Linked DNA regions of Homo sapiens: regions 2, 3 and 4 are each linked to region 1. Evidence: promoter capture Hi-C in 16 types of primary human blood cells and fetal thymus (Javierre and others, 2016). All regions are on one chromosome and are shown on one strand. Each heading gives the region's core, a stretch centred on a gene start or on the middle of the fragment in contact. The rest is flanking DNA. Distances are from core to core; before and after follow the strand shown.

What was found. Contacts are between HindIII fragments. The CHiCAGO score rates a contact against its expected background, and 5 or more counts as called.
Region 2: a contact is called between a fragment that was not itself captured here and the fragment with the promoter of CDK3 in region 1, in 1 of 17 cell types (erythroblasts). The highest score is 5.0, in erythroblasts.
Region 3: a fragment that was not itself captured here is called in contact with the fragment with the promoter of CDK3 in region 1 in 5 of 17 cell types (naive CD4 T cells, naive CD8 T cells, M2 macrophages and 2 more); the score reaches 6.1 in naive CD4 T cells.
Region 4: the fragment with the promoter of UBALD2 here is called in contact with the fragment with the promoter of CDK3 in region 1 in 1 of 17 cell types (endothelial precursors); the score reaches 5.1 in endothelial precursors.

Annotation. Positions count from the first base shown.
Region 1 is chr17:75,999,253-76,002,292 of GRCh38, forward strand. CDK3 (cyclin dependent kinase 3) reads left to right here and starts at 1,603. Exons shown (of 8, transcript NM_001258.4): 1 at 1,603-1,715; 2 at 2,160-2,289; 3 at 2,622-2,699; 4 at 2,770-2,890; 5 at 2,996-3,040. The coding sequence starts at 2,174. It overlaps TEN1 (TEN1 subunit of CST complex), which reads left to right. Exons shown (of 4, transcript NM_001113324.3): 4 at 889-1,334. The coding sequence ends at 1,010. TEN1-CDK3 (TEN1-CDK3 readthrough (NMD candidate)) reads left to right here. Exons shown (of 10, transcript NR_037709.1): 4 at 889-2,289; 5 at 2,622-2,699; 6 at 2,770-2,890; 7 at 2,996-3,040. LOC124904061 (a long non-coding RNA gene) reads right to left here and starts at 1,308. Exons shown (of 2, transcript XR_007065911.1): 1 at 553-1,308; 2 at 1-384. RefSeq lists an enhancer at 1,230-1,279 and a silencer at 1,410-1,489. The HindIII fragment of the contact is 39,600 bases long and covers 1-3,040 here.
Region 2 is chr17:76,440,223-76,443,262 of GRCh38, forward strand. All of the region lies in intron 1 of UBE2O (ubiquitin conjugating enzyme E2 O), which reads right to left. Among named protein-coding and RNA genes, the nearest start is that of UBE2O, 11 kb to the right of the region's middle. RefSeq lists enhancers at 829-1,346, 2,771-2,890. The HindIII fragment of the contact is 1,459 bases long and covers 855-2,313 here.
Region 3 is chr17:76,330,466-76,333,505 of GRCh38, forward strand. PRPSAP1 (phosphoribosyl pyrophosphate synthetase associated protein 1) reads right to left here. Exons shown (of 10, transcript NM_002766.3): 4 at 1,798-1,970; 5 at 86-201. Among named protein-coding and RNA genes, the nearest start is that of PRPSAP1, 22 kb to the right of the region's middle. The HindIII fragment of the contact is 1,467 bases long and covers 659-2,125 here.
Region 4 is chr17:76,263,725-76,266,764 of GRCh38, forward strand. UBALD2 (UBA like domain containing 2) reads left to right here and starts at 1,624. Exons shown (of 3, transcript NM_182565.4): 1 at 1,624-1,901; 2 at 2,183-2,245. The coding sequence starts at 1,782. LOC105371896 (a long non-coding RNA gene) reads right to left here and starts at 1,357. Exons shown (of 6, transcript XR_007065913.1): 1 at 1-1,357. RefSeq lists enhancers at 1,027-1,076, 2,337-2,436 and silencers at 1,427-1,726, 2,027-2,166. The HindIII fragment of the contact is 2,310 bases long and covers 667-2,976 here.

The sequences.
Region 1 (3,040 bases), core at 353-2,852:
ATCACCTGAGCCTGGGAGGTGGAGGCTACATTGAGCCATGATTGAGCCACTGCATTCCAGCCCAAGTGACAGAGCAACACCCTGTCTCAAAAAAAAAATTTTTTTTTTTAGGTGGAGTCTTGCTCTGTTGCCCAGGCTGGAGTGCAGTGGCGTGATCTTGGCTCACTGCAACCTCCACCTCCTGGGTTCAAGCAATTCTCCTGCCTCAGCCTTCCAAGTAGCTGGGATTACAGGCATGCACCACTACACGCGGCTAATTTTTGTATTTTTAGTAGAGATGGGGTTTCATCATGTTGGCCAGGCTGGTCTTGAACTCCTGACCTCAAGTGTTCCACATGCCTTGGCCTCCCAAAGTGCTGAGATTACAGGTGTGAGCCAGTTCACCTGTCAAAAGAAAGAAAATTTTTAAAAAGTCTCTCGGAGATGTCTTTCCTGTTTGGTGCCACCTGAATAGTGGCAAACCTTTCCATTATGTATCAGGTCACCACCGCATCTGCTAGAAGCCCCCCTCGTCCAGGGTGGGATGACCTGCTCCTATAAAGCCAAACTTACCGGGAGCTCAGTCTCTTGGATTTTTAAAATATGGGTGTCTCTTTTCCCCGGTTCCTGATGACATTGTGTCCCAAGGTGCCAAGGGGGCCTTTCCCTCAGTCCAGAGGGGTTTTCTGACCACCTGCTAAGTTCCAGACACGGGCCGACTGTGCATGACAGGCCCACGGTTCTAGGCCCAAATACTCAGTTGCCTTTGCCCCATATGCTGTTATTGTCCACATCACTTGCTGCCAAAACCCAGGACTGAGCTGTGGAGGGAACAGCTGGAATGCACCTTGGAGGACGTTGTTGACACGCCGCTCAGTCGCCGTTCGTGCCCTGGTGTTTGTCTTGCAGACAGAGGCTCCGTGGTGAAGGCGCGCGTGCTGACCTGTGTGGAGGGGATGAACCTGCCCTTGTTGGAACAAGCCATCCGGGAGCAGAGACTGTACAAGCAGGAGCGGGGCGGCAGCCAGTAGGAAACAGCAGCCTAGCAACACCCTCACCTGCTTCAGAGCCCGAACCCTCTGGAGCTGCAGGAGCCCGGGAGAGCACAGACGCCTCCCCAGCGACGGCCTTGTCTGGAGCTCGAAAGCCGAGGGGCGGGTGATGAATCCAGCCCCTTCCCCTACTTTGGGATTGGCTCAGCAATGAGAACCCAGAAAGCATGCCATAAATCCGACAGCCCCACCCCAGGAGACTGCAGGTGGCCGAGCTTGGGCGCCGGGGCCGTGCTTGGTGTGGGGCCATGGAGGGTTCCAGAAGGTCCTGGTGAATAAAGGCCCAGGGGGCGTGCTCTTGAAGTGTGCTCGTGGTGCAGCGCCGGCGGGGGCCAGGAGGGGGAGCTGCAACCCAGGCTGTGGGCTGCAGCCTCTCAGGGCTTCTGGTGAATTCTGGGCCTGGGGCCTCAGGGTAGGGCACCAGGGGCCCAGGGGCTGGGGTGGGGGGCCCAGGATGCAGGGGTCTGCCCCTGGCCAGGCTCTGCCTTCAGAGGAGGCTGAGCGTCGTCACACGGGCCGGGCTGAGGCCCTGGGCCCTGACCGTGCAGCCTAAGACAGGACTGTGGCTTTAAGACCCTCCTGACCCCTGACCTCTGCCCCCAGTGGCCCTGGCCCCTGGGCAGCCCTTCCTGGCCGCCATGTGTACCCAGAGCCTGGGACTGGCTGGGCTGGGCAGTGACCCAGGTGGGAAAGGGTGGTCTTGCCCTCTAAGGCCCGGCACAAGTGAGAGGCCTGGGGGTCCATGTTGGGCTGGGCTGGGCGAGGGGTGGTCTCTGACTTCCTGGGGGTTCTGGCTGGGATGGGCAGGGGGCTGGGTGGGAGAGTGTGGGCCCTGCCCTCCGAGGCCGGGCATGGGCGAGAAGCCTGGGGGTCCTGGCTGAACTGGGCTGGGTGAAGGGGGCCCCCTGACCCCCTTGGGGTCCGGGCTGGGCTGGGTGAGGGGCGGTTTCCGACCCCCAGCCAGGTTCCCAGGCAGGATGAGCTGGGGTTGGGGTGGCTAGGCCGTGGGCCTTGGGAGCTGGGCAGTCTGGGCTGGGCTGGGCTGGGCAGGGCGCCACATGGAAGCTGGAGGAGCAACGGGAGCGCTGGGCGTGGGGTGCAAATTGCCCGGTGCCTTCTGTTTCCCAGGCAGCTCTGTGGCCATGGATATGTTCCAGAAGGTAGAGAAGATCGGAGAGGGCACCTATGGGGTGGTGTACAAGGCCAAGAACAGGGAGACAGGGCAGCTGGTGGCCCTGAAGAAGATCAGACTGGATTTGTGAGTGCTGGGACGGCCCCTGAGTTACCCACCCTGGGCCATCACAACCTGGGCGCTCCCTGATCCGTTCCCTCTTTCCTGGAGTCCACGTTTAACTCCTCTGGGTGCTGCCCAGCAGCCCTTACCTGTCCTCTCCCCAGTTCACTGCCTTCTGACCAGCCTTTGCCGGGGCCCTGACTGTGGAGTTTGGTGGATGACGTGCCAAGGAGCACAGGTCTCCATTGCCGGGGCCCTGGTCATTCTGTGGGGTTAAGGAGAAGCCGATCCCCCTGGCTGGAAGTGCCCTTCTTGGCCCAAGTCTCTGCCCACGGCTGTGCCCTTGTTTCTTGCAGGGAGATGGAGGGGGTCCCAAGCACTGCCATCAGGGAGATCTCGCTGCTCAAGGAACTGAAGCACCCCAACATCGTCCGGTGAGTTGGGGATTGAGGTGGGGAAGCTGGGATGGCGAAGGTAGCATCCTGACTGCCATCTCCCTGTCAGACTGCTGGACGTGGTGCACAACGAGAGGAAGCTCTATCTGGTGTTTGAGTTCCTCAGCCAGGACCTGAAGAAGTACATGGACTCCACCCCAGGCTCAGAGCTCCCCCTGCACCTCATCAAGGTAGGGAAGGAAGGGCAGGGAAGGAGAGGTGACACCCCATCCCTGCCATCCCTGTCCACGCAGCACCTCCGCTCAGCTGGCTGCACCTCGCGCTCGTTTCTCCAGAGCTACCTCTTCCAGCTGCTGCAGGGGGTGAGTTTCTGCCACTCA
Region 2 (3,040 bases), core at 334-2,833, 440 kb after region 1:
AACGCACAGTCTCTCATTAGTACTTATCATATGAGTTATATGTTGATATAATATTTTGAATACATTGGGTTAAGTAAAATATATTAAAATTAATTTCATCTCTTTGTTTTTTTTACTTTGAGACAGGGTCTTGCTCTGTTGCCTAGGCTTAAGGGCAATGGGTCGCACGATCACGGCCCATTGCCACCTCGACCGCCAGGACTCAAGCGATCCTCTCACCTCAGCCTACTGAGTAGTTGGGACTACAGGCGTAAGCTGCCACGCTAAGATGATTTCTGTACTTTTTGAAGAGATGGGGTTTCATCATGTTGCCCAGGCTGGTCTCGAACTCCTGGCCTCAAGTGATCCGCCTGGCTTGGCCTCCCAAAGTGTTGGGATTATAGCCATGAGCCACCATGCCTGGCCTCTATTTACTTTTTTCAGCTGTGGCTCACATTGTATCTCTATTTTTCAGGATCCTTCCAGAGCAGAGGTGGGAAAACTACAGCCTGCAGGTCATGTCCAGCCTACTGCCTGTTTCTTAAAATTTTATTGGAACATGACCATGCCCATTCATTTGCTTACTGCCTCTGAATGCTTTTGTGCTATAATGGCAAAGCTGAGTTGTTGTGAAGGAGACAGTATAGCCTGCAACACTAGGACATTTATCATCTGGCCCTTTACAGAAAGTTTGGCTGGCCCCTTATCTAGAGGGCAGGGCCTGTGTGGGGGTATCTCTCTCCCCACAGCACCCAGCACAGTGCAGGGGGCACCCGTGTAGTCAGTGAAGAGAACCTGCATTCGGGCAGCACAAACTGGCCTAAGTTTGAATTTGGGTTGGCCTCCCACTTGCTATGTGGCCTTGGTGAGTTATAAGCTTTCTCTGGGTTTCAGTCTTTCCTTTTCTAAAATGGGGCACTGGCCACTTTAAGGGAAGTGAGATGACACAGGTAAAGTGTGAGTTAACATGCCTGGCTCACAGCAGGAATCCATTGACACTGGCTGGATAAAAGACAGCAATTTCATTAAAATGCTGAATAATCATTCTCCTCTTGGATTGGGTGTGTTATACTCAAAACAACTACCATATTTACATCCTAAAATGAAATGAAATCAAATGAAACTTCTTAGCAACAGCAGTGCATTAATAATAACCACCAGCAAGCAATGGGGAGGAAGAAAGAGGCAAGCCTTTCTAACACTAAAGCACTGGCGGATGATGAGTCCGCCTCATCCCTTTCCTGCCCCTCCTGCAGCCCACCTTTGGACAATTCCCGGTTCATTAACACTGGCACTAGAAGAATAAGCAGAGGGGAGAGAAAAAGCCTCGAACCAAAGACGTACTAAAACTGAACCCATTGACATCAACGAGGTTTGGAAGGGCCCATATAAGTGCAATTCAAAAGACAGTCCCAGCCAGCAGCATCAATGTCACTGGGAGTTTGTTAGACACGCAGATTCTTCAGCCCAATGGAATTAGGACAATTTGCATTAGGAGACCCTAGGTGATGGCATGTGGCATTCACCTTGGAAAAGTGCTGGATTAGAATCCATTTATTCATGCTCTCTTCACTTCCCCCTCCCCCTCCACTGATAAACAGGGGTGGTTATATCTACTTTCAATAGATGGTTCCTGACTCCTTCAAAGTAATAGGCCTGGCATAGCCACTGCAACTCCAGGCCCCGCCCCCAAGGGTCTTGGTGCAGGCAGAGTGCATAGCCTAAGCTGCGTTCCTGATTCATTTGCAGTCGGGTGGGGCATTCTTTTTCCAATAGAGAGCCTCGTTCGTACTTAGCCATCCTCCTAAGGTGAGGACTGGGTGCTGATAACCATTCAGGAAACCCACGTGTGTGGAATCTGCCATTTGTCAAGTGCTTTAGGCGGGGTTCTTACAGGGGAAATGCAGCCAGAAGCAGCTTCATTTCGACCACAGGTGACACCAGCTCTAGCTAGCTCTAGCCTAGTCCACAATGCACGTAGTCTGCCTGGGGAGCCCGCGACGGAAGTTGCCAAAGTAGTAACTACAATATGGTGTATTCTGATTAATCTGCTCTTCCTAGTATTAGGATGCCCATACGTCCCAGTCCTGGAGTAATTATTCATAGTACTCTCAAAAGAACCCAACTTGGGCAATAAATTACTGTACATGGTCAACACACCTAGTACGGGGGGTGGGAGACAGAGTGGTCTAGTAAGGGGCCCATACAGCTCCAGCACAGACCACAGGGCATCTGGAAGAAGACTAAGAATACTATTTGTAGTAAGTGGGAGGGAGCAAACTGGTCATTCATGAAGATGTTTCCCAAGAGTCTGCATGTGCGTGATAGCACACAAGCTTTAGGATTTGCTGTCTCTGTTTCTCAAGGAGCTTCCCATCCAGGAGAGAATGTGGGTGTGCCATGGGGCATGAGAGGAAGGGAACGGCACAATTGAGTTGGGGAAAAGCAGTCAGATTGGCTGGAATCAACTGAAGAGGCAGGAGATAGAGCAGGATGTGTAGGTGAGGGGCCCTGAATGACAACCAAGGCATGATCAGAGGCTGGGTCCTGACACAATCCAGGCGATCACTTGGGAGGTCAGCCCTTTGGAGGTCAGTTGGCGGCAGCGCTGTTCACTGGTTGAAGGAGGACTAGAGGCAGGGAGACCAGGGAGAAGGCTACACAGTGCAGGCATGAGGCAAGCAGAGAGCAAACCAGGGTTGTGAAAGGGAAATGCAGGCACAGGATGCAAGAGGCCTCTCAAAGAACTGATGACAAGTTAGAATGAGGGCCAAAGAAGGTAAATTAAAAATGACCCCAAATGCTCTAATTTTGAGAAGATTCAAGCTTAGGTATTTAGGGGTGAAGTGCTATCATGTCTGCCACTAACTTAGCAGGAGTTAGTACCAGACATAATTCAGGAGGAAATATATTTACATAAGCATACAGATAAGGCAAATATGGCAGGATGTTAACAACTGCTGACTCATAATGGTTGGGGGTTAGCAATTACTGGCTTTCAACATTTTGGTATGGTCAATATTTTTTCCTATTAAAAAGTTGGGTCTTGGGTTCAGAACCA
Region 3 (3,040 bases), core at 142-2,641, 330 kb after region 1:
CTTCCAGTAACGAAATCTGATACCAGAGAAAAACTAAATAAGATCTCTTTTGAGGACAATGGGGTGTTTGCTGGTGGTTCCTCACTTCTTCCTGGATATACTGAAGCAGGAAAGGTGAGGCTCTAAGGTTGTCCACAGGAAAGCTGAAAAAGCCTTGTATTTCCTTTTGATGAAGATCCATAGTGATAATGTGAGTTAAACCTGAAATTTTAAAACAAAAAATTACAAAGTTCACCCCTACAGGTAAATGGCTACAGTGGACCTAAACTAGATGCTCAACTCCTGCTTCCTACCAGCAGACTGAAGACGGGGTACTGTGATTAAGCACTGCAGTCACAGGCTTGATTGTTAACCTTAATAAAGCCTTAATGTAGAGAAGGCTACAACCTTCCACATGGACAAAGAACTAAAGCTAAGAAAGTGGGAATTATTGACTTTTGGCTTGGTCCAGAAAATTGAGAAAAGAATAATGTGGCAGAAGCAAAAATATGAATATGGAATTAATACCGAAGAGATGGAAAAAACAGTAAGGCCTTGATTACAGAATCTTAAAAGAAAGGATAAAGAACTGTAGCGAAGGCAAAAAGTAGCAAGAACACAAACGCAAAGTAATATACATATTAGAAGAAAAGAAACTCATATAACACAAAGATATTGAAGCTTAGAATAATTTCTGTATGTAACAAAGAATGTTTCAAGTATTCTTATAGAAAAACAATGAAGAGATACTCTTATAATCAAGAGTACTGAAGAGGAAAAGGTACATATATATAAACACATTGCAAATGGTCAAAGGTCACAGCAAAACTTCCAGGGTGTAGAACCAGTATTACTTGTTCTTTCCAGAAACACTATAGTTTTTTGGAGAGGATGAAATTCACATACAGTTGACCATCTGGATCTATGGGTTCCACGTGTGGATTCAACGAAACACAGACTGAAAAGGTAGTTAGGCCTACAATGGTTGTGTCTGTACTGAGCAGGTATGAAACTTTTTTCTCATCATTATTCCCTAAACAAGACAGCATAACAACAATTTATATAGTGTTTATATGGTATTAGGTATTTATAAATAATCTACAGATGACTGTGTTGGTTATATGCAAATACTATGGCATTTTATATGGAAGACTTGAGTATCTTTGGGTTTTTGTATCTGCTGAGGAGCCGGGGAAGCGGGAGATGGGTTCCTGGAACCAATCCTATAAGGACATTGAGGGAGGACCATACATTTCTTTCCGAGGACCCAAATATACGTTAAAGTTTTAGAACAGACATCAGATGAATAGAAACCCAATTGTAAAATATTACATTGATTTACAGGCCAGAAAGCGTGCCCCCGCCACACAAGGAGAATAAAGCAATGAAAATGAGCCACTATGTAGAAAGGCAAGGGTGGGGGAGAGGGAGTAAAAGAAAATCCAGCTTGAATACTATGAACAAAAATGGAATTTAGCTAACAAAGCAGATATAGAAATCTAGACCTGAAGATCAAAAGATCACATAAGAATGCCAAGACTGCCAGCTAAGAATTTAGCGATGACAAGATGAAATAGAAAATATGTGACAGATGACAGAGAAGAGAAGACACTAAAGCAATGGTATTCTAAAGTAGGACAAAGCGAATAAGGGAAAAAAAAGAATTTCTAACCGAGCTCACATATCCTTAGCCAAAACTGTTCAAAAGGAAACAAACACTCAGATCCCAGATTGGATATCTGAGGTATGAGCTAAGTCCAACTAGGAAAGAGCCCTAAAGGATCATGCTGGAACCCCAGGGCCCCCGCGCACACTCACCTGCTTTCGCCAGCATGGATGCTAGCAGCTTGCACACAATGGAACCCCTCTTCCTCATCTTGCTCTGCTTGCTGTAGGGGAAGTAGGGGATGACCCCAATAATGTTCCTGGCACAGGCAGTCTTCAGTGCGTAAGCCATGATGAGCAACTCCATCACAGCTGTATTCACATCTCTGAAACAGTCAAAGTTTGTATTTGGGGATTAATTCCATGTATCAACCCTAGAAAAGATCTTGACTTTATCAACTTAACATGGGCTGCCCAGATGGGTGTTGTGGGAATTTTACCATCACACTAGCTTACAATGGCACCTCATGAAGGCAGGGGAAGCTTTCTGACTTTTTGTAGCTGAGTAAGCCCTAGCTTTCATCTGAGGTTACTCCTATTCACAGCACAGTTAACCCACCCTCACATTTGCCTGGGTCTCCTGTGTCATACCCCGTTACTGCAGTGACATCTGAAGCAACTGCTGGTGACCAGAGTTACCCAACACCTGCTGGCAGCCTCCCAGGGATTTGGGCTTAGGCCAGCTTGAATGCCAAGGGAAACCCAACTGCCCTTCCATTTAGCTGCCATTAACAGAAAGATTTGGTCTCTTTCCATTGAGTGTGGGGAGGTCTTGGAATATAATTTTTTTTTTTTTTTTTTGAGACGGAGTCTCGCTGTCGCCCAGGTTGGAGTGCAGTGGCGCGATCTCAGCTCACTGCAGGCTCCGCCCCCCGAGGTTCACGCCATTCTCCTGCCTCAGCCTCCCGAGTAGCTGGGACTACAGGCGCCCGCCACCTCGCCCGGCTAATTTTTTGTATTTTTAGTAGAGACGGGGTTTCACCATGTTAGCCAGGATGGTCTTCATCTCCTGACCTTTTGAGATGAAGTCTCACTCTGTCGCCCAGGCTGGACTGCAGTGGTGTGATCTCAGTTCACTGCAACCTCCGCCTCCCAGGTTCAGGCAATTCTCCTGGCTCATCCTCCCGAGTAACTGGGATTATAGGCGTGCACCACCACACGTGGCTAATTTTGTATTTTTAGTAGAAACGGGGTTTCTCCATGTTGGTCAGGCTGGTCTCGAACTCCCGACCTTAGGTGATCCGCCCACCTCGGCCTCCCAAAGTGCTGGGATTACAGGCATGACCCACTATACCCAGCTGGAACTTAATTTTCGAAAACCTCCCTGGAGGCTGGACGCAGCCCAGCCAATATGGTGAAACCTTGTCTCTACTAAAAATACAAAAATTAGCCAGGT
Region 4 (3,040 bases), core at 374-2,873, 260 kb after region 1:
CCTAGTTCTTTTCCTACCCCCACAATTCTCAAACACAGCCCTGAAGATCAAACTCTAATCCAGAAGATGGAAGCTCAGCACATACAAACAAATTTGGGGCCAGGCATGGTGGCTCACACCTGTAATCCCTGTGCTTTGGGAGGCTGAGGCAGGAGGATCACTTTAGTCCAGGAGTTCAAGACCAGCCTGGGCAACAATAGTGAGATCTCATCTCTACCAAAAATTCAAAAATTAGTCAGGCATGGTGGTGTGTGCCTGTAGTCCCAGCTACTCGAGAGGCTGAGGCAAGAGGATCGCTCGAAGTTACAGTGAGCCATGATCATGTCACTCTAGCCCTATCTAACAACCACCACCACCAAATTTTGGACTTTAAAGGGCTACCACTGAGAAACAGTATCTCTGTAGAAACACTCACTGTTTGTTATTGTTTGTTTTTATTTGGTAGAGATGGAGTCTGTGCTATGTTGCCCAAGCTGGTGTTGAACTCCCGGCCTCAAGTTATCCTCCTGTCTCGGCCTCCCAAAGTGCTGGGATTATAGGTGTAAGCCATCCCAACCCCAGACTCCACCCCTACTGCCACCCGTTGTTTTTTTAAAAGATGGTAGAAATTAAAGCTTCATCTTAGCTTTCGTGACAAGCAAGAGAAAAAAAAAAAAAGAAAATTAAAGCTTCAGTTAGGTCAACCGATTTAACAAGAAAAAATTCTTGACTTGGCATTTTGGCCACTGAGAAAGTCTCACTTTTTTCCTTGCATATTTCCTTGCATATCGTATTTATTGTACATAAATCTTGGCTTCCATCTTCAGAGAGCAAAGTCTTTGGTCTAAAAACTGAGAAAATACTGCTCGATCCTTGCGGTGGGTAGTGATTAGAAGAGGGCAGGACGCGGGTTCCTAGGGTGCAAGTAACGTTCTGTTAATTGATCTGGGTGTTCACTTGGTGAAAAGTCTGGAAGCTGTACCTGCGACATCGCACTTTCCTAATGTACGTTATATTTCAATAAAAGATTTTTTTAAATTGGACTGCTTGAAAGTTATTTTTAAAAATTACATGCTTTTGAGACTTGAGCAGCTGCAAAGGCTCTGTTTTCTATTTTGATCATTCTGTTTCTCGAGATGACCACATCTTTCAGAGGAAATGAGTCAAAGCCACTCTGTCTTGCTTTTCCAGCTGAGCATGTTCTGTTTCAATGAAGTAATGAATGAACTTGGCCGCACCACCCCCAAGCCTACAACAGCAAACAGAGGGCCCTCGGCCAATCAGCAGGCACTCCGGGTTTTCAAGTTGAGTTCAAACAGGACCACCGGAGGCCAATCAGAGTGCGCGGCCCCGCCCCGAACGCCCGGCCGTGACCAACCACGAGGCCGGATGAGCCAAAACACAGCGGCCGGCCAATGCTGGGGAGCCCCACGGCGCCGAGCTCCGCCAATGGGCGCGGCCGGGCGAAAAGAGAAACAGTGAGGGCCCCACAGGCCGCAGGATTCGAATCGAACGTCCTTACGGGAGCCGGGCGCTGGCGGAGCGGCGCCCCGGCCAATCAGCGGCAGTCCCCGAACGTTGGGCCGGCCCAGCCCCGCCCCGCGCTGTTGTTTGTGGTGTCGGCCGGGCCGCGGGAGTCGAACCACAACATTCGCCGGGCGGGCGGCGGCGGAGCGGGCGGCGGAGCGGCGGCAGCAGCGGTGAGCGCGAGCCCCGGAGCCCCGGGCGGCCGGCCTCCCGCGCCCGCGCAGCCCCGCGTCTGCGTCCGGCCGGAGACGCCGGGCCCCGCGCCGCGCCGCGCCATGTCGGTGAACATGGACGAGCTGCGGCACCAGGTCATGATCAACCAGTTCGTGCTGGCCGCGGGCTGCGCGGCCGACCAGGCGAAGCAGTTGCTGCAGGCGGCCCACTGGCAGTTCGAGGTGCGAGCCTGGCCGCCGCGGGGCCGGGCCGCGGGGGTCGGGGACGCCGGGCGGCGGCGGGGGCGGGGAGCGCTCCTGTTGTCGGCCCGGAAGGCGATCGGCGCCCGCGAGCGGGTCTTACGCGGGACCGGGGCCGGGACCGGCTCCCCTCTGCACGTGGGGCAGCCGAGGGTCGGGGGCCGCGGGCCGGGCGCGGAGGCGGGGAGAGCCGGTGGGGGGCCCAGCCGCTGCGTTTCCTGACTCCGCCTGGCCCGCCGTGTCACTGCCCTGTTTGTCCGCAGACCGCGCTGAGCACGTTCTTCCAAGAAACCAACATTCCCAACAGCCACCACCACCACCAGATGGTAAGCGGCGGCGGGCAGGGGCGCGGGCCGGGGCCGCTGTCAGCGCGGCGGTGACAGCCATGTTGCCGGGGAGCGCCGCGCCGCGAATGTAAACAAAGAGCCAAAATGTCTTCCAGGAAAGAGCGGCTCCCGGGCCGGCGCTGGCGCCTCCAACTTTGAGGCCCGCCTCCCGGGCTGCTGCTGCTTGGCCTCGGGACTGGTGCCCGGCACTGGTCCCTGGGGGGAAGCGGCGCCAAAGTTGGGGGGAGGGGGAGAGGGCCGGGGGCCTGGCGAGGGGCTCAGGAGCTGGGGGACCCCAGAGCCAGGGGATGGGGAGGGGGAGAGGGTGATGCCCGGACGTCTGGGGCACTGGGAAGCCCGCGCGAAGGGCCCAGGGAGGGCGATGGGGGTGCTTGTGTTTATGGGGACCCCCTCGTGCTGTTGAGTGGTTTCCCCCCTCCCCCTCCACACACACACACACCCAGCGCTACAGGGAACAGGAAAGGCATGAATCCACCCTGGCTCAGGAAGCCGGGCTCTACCCACAAAGATCTGTTCAACCTTCCGAAGCCCAAGGGGACTGGGAAGTTGGAAGGACATACATCCCCCAAGCCAGGAGGACACACAGATTTTGACCCAAGATAAGGCCAGGAATGTGTCTTTAATCTCTGTGTTGAGCTCCACCAGCCCAGCACACAGAGAAGTGGTCCGGGGTCTGGATTTGCTTTCTTTTTCATTCTAGCCCAGGCCCAAGCTTTTGCCCTCCTGGCCATGGGGTACTCTGCTTTCTTGAGGCCCAGGACATCTCTCCTGTAC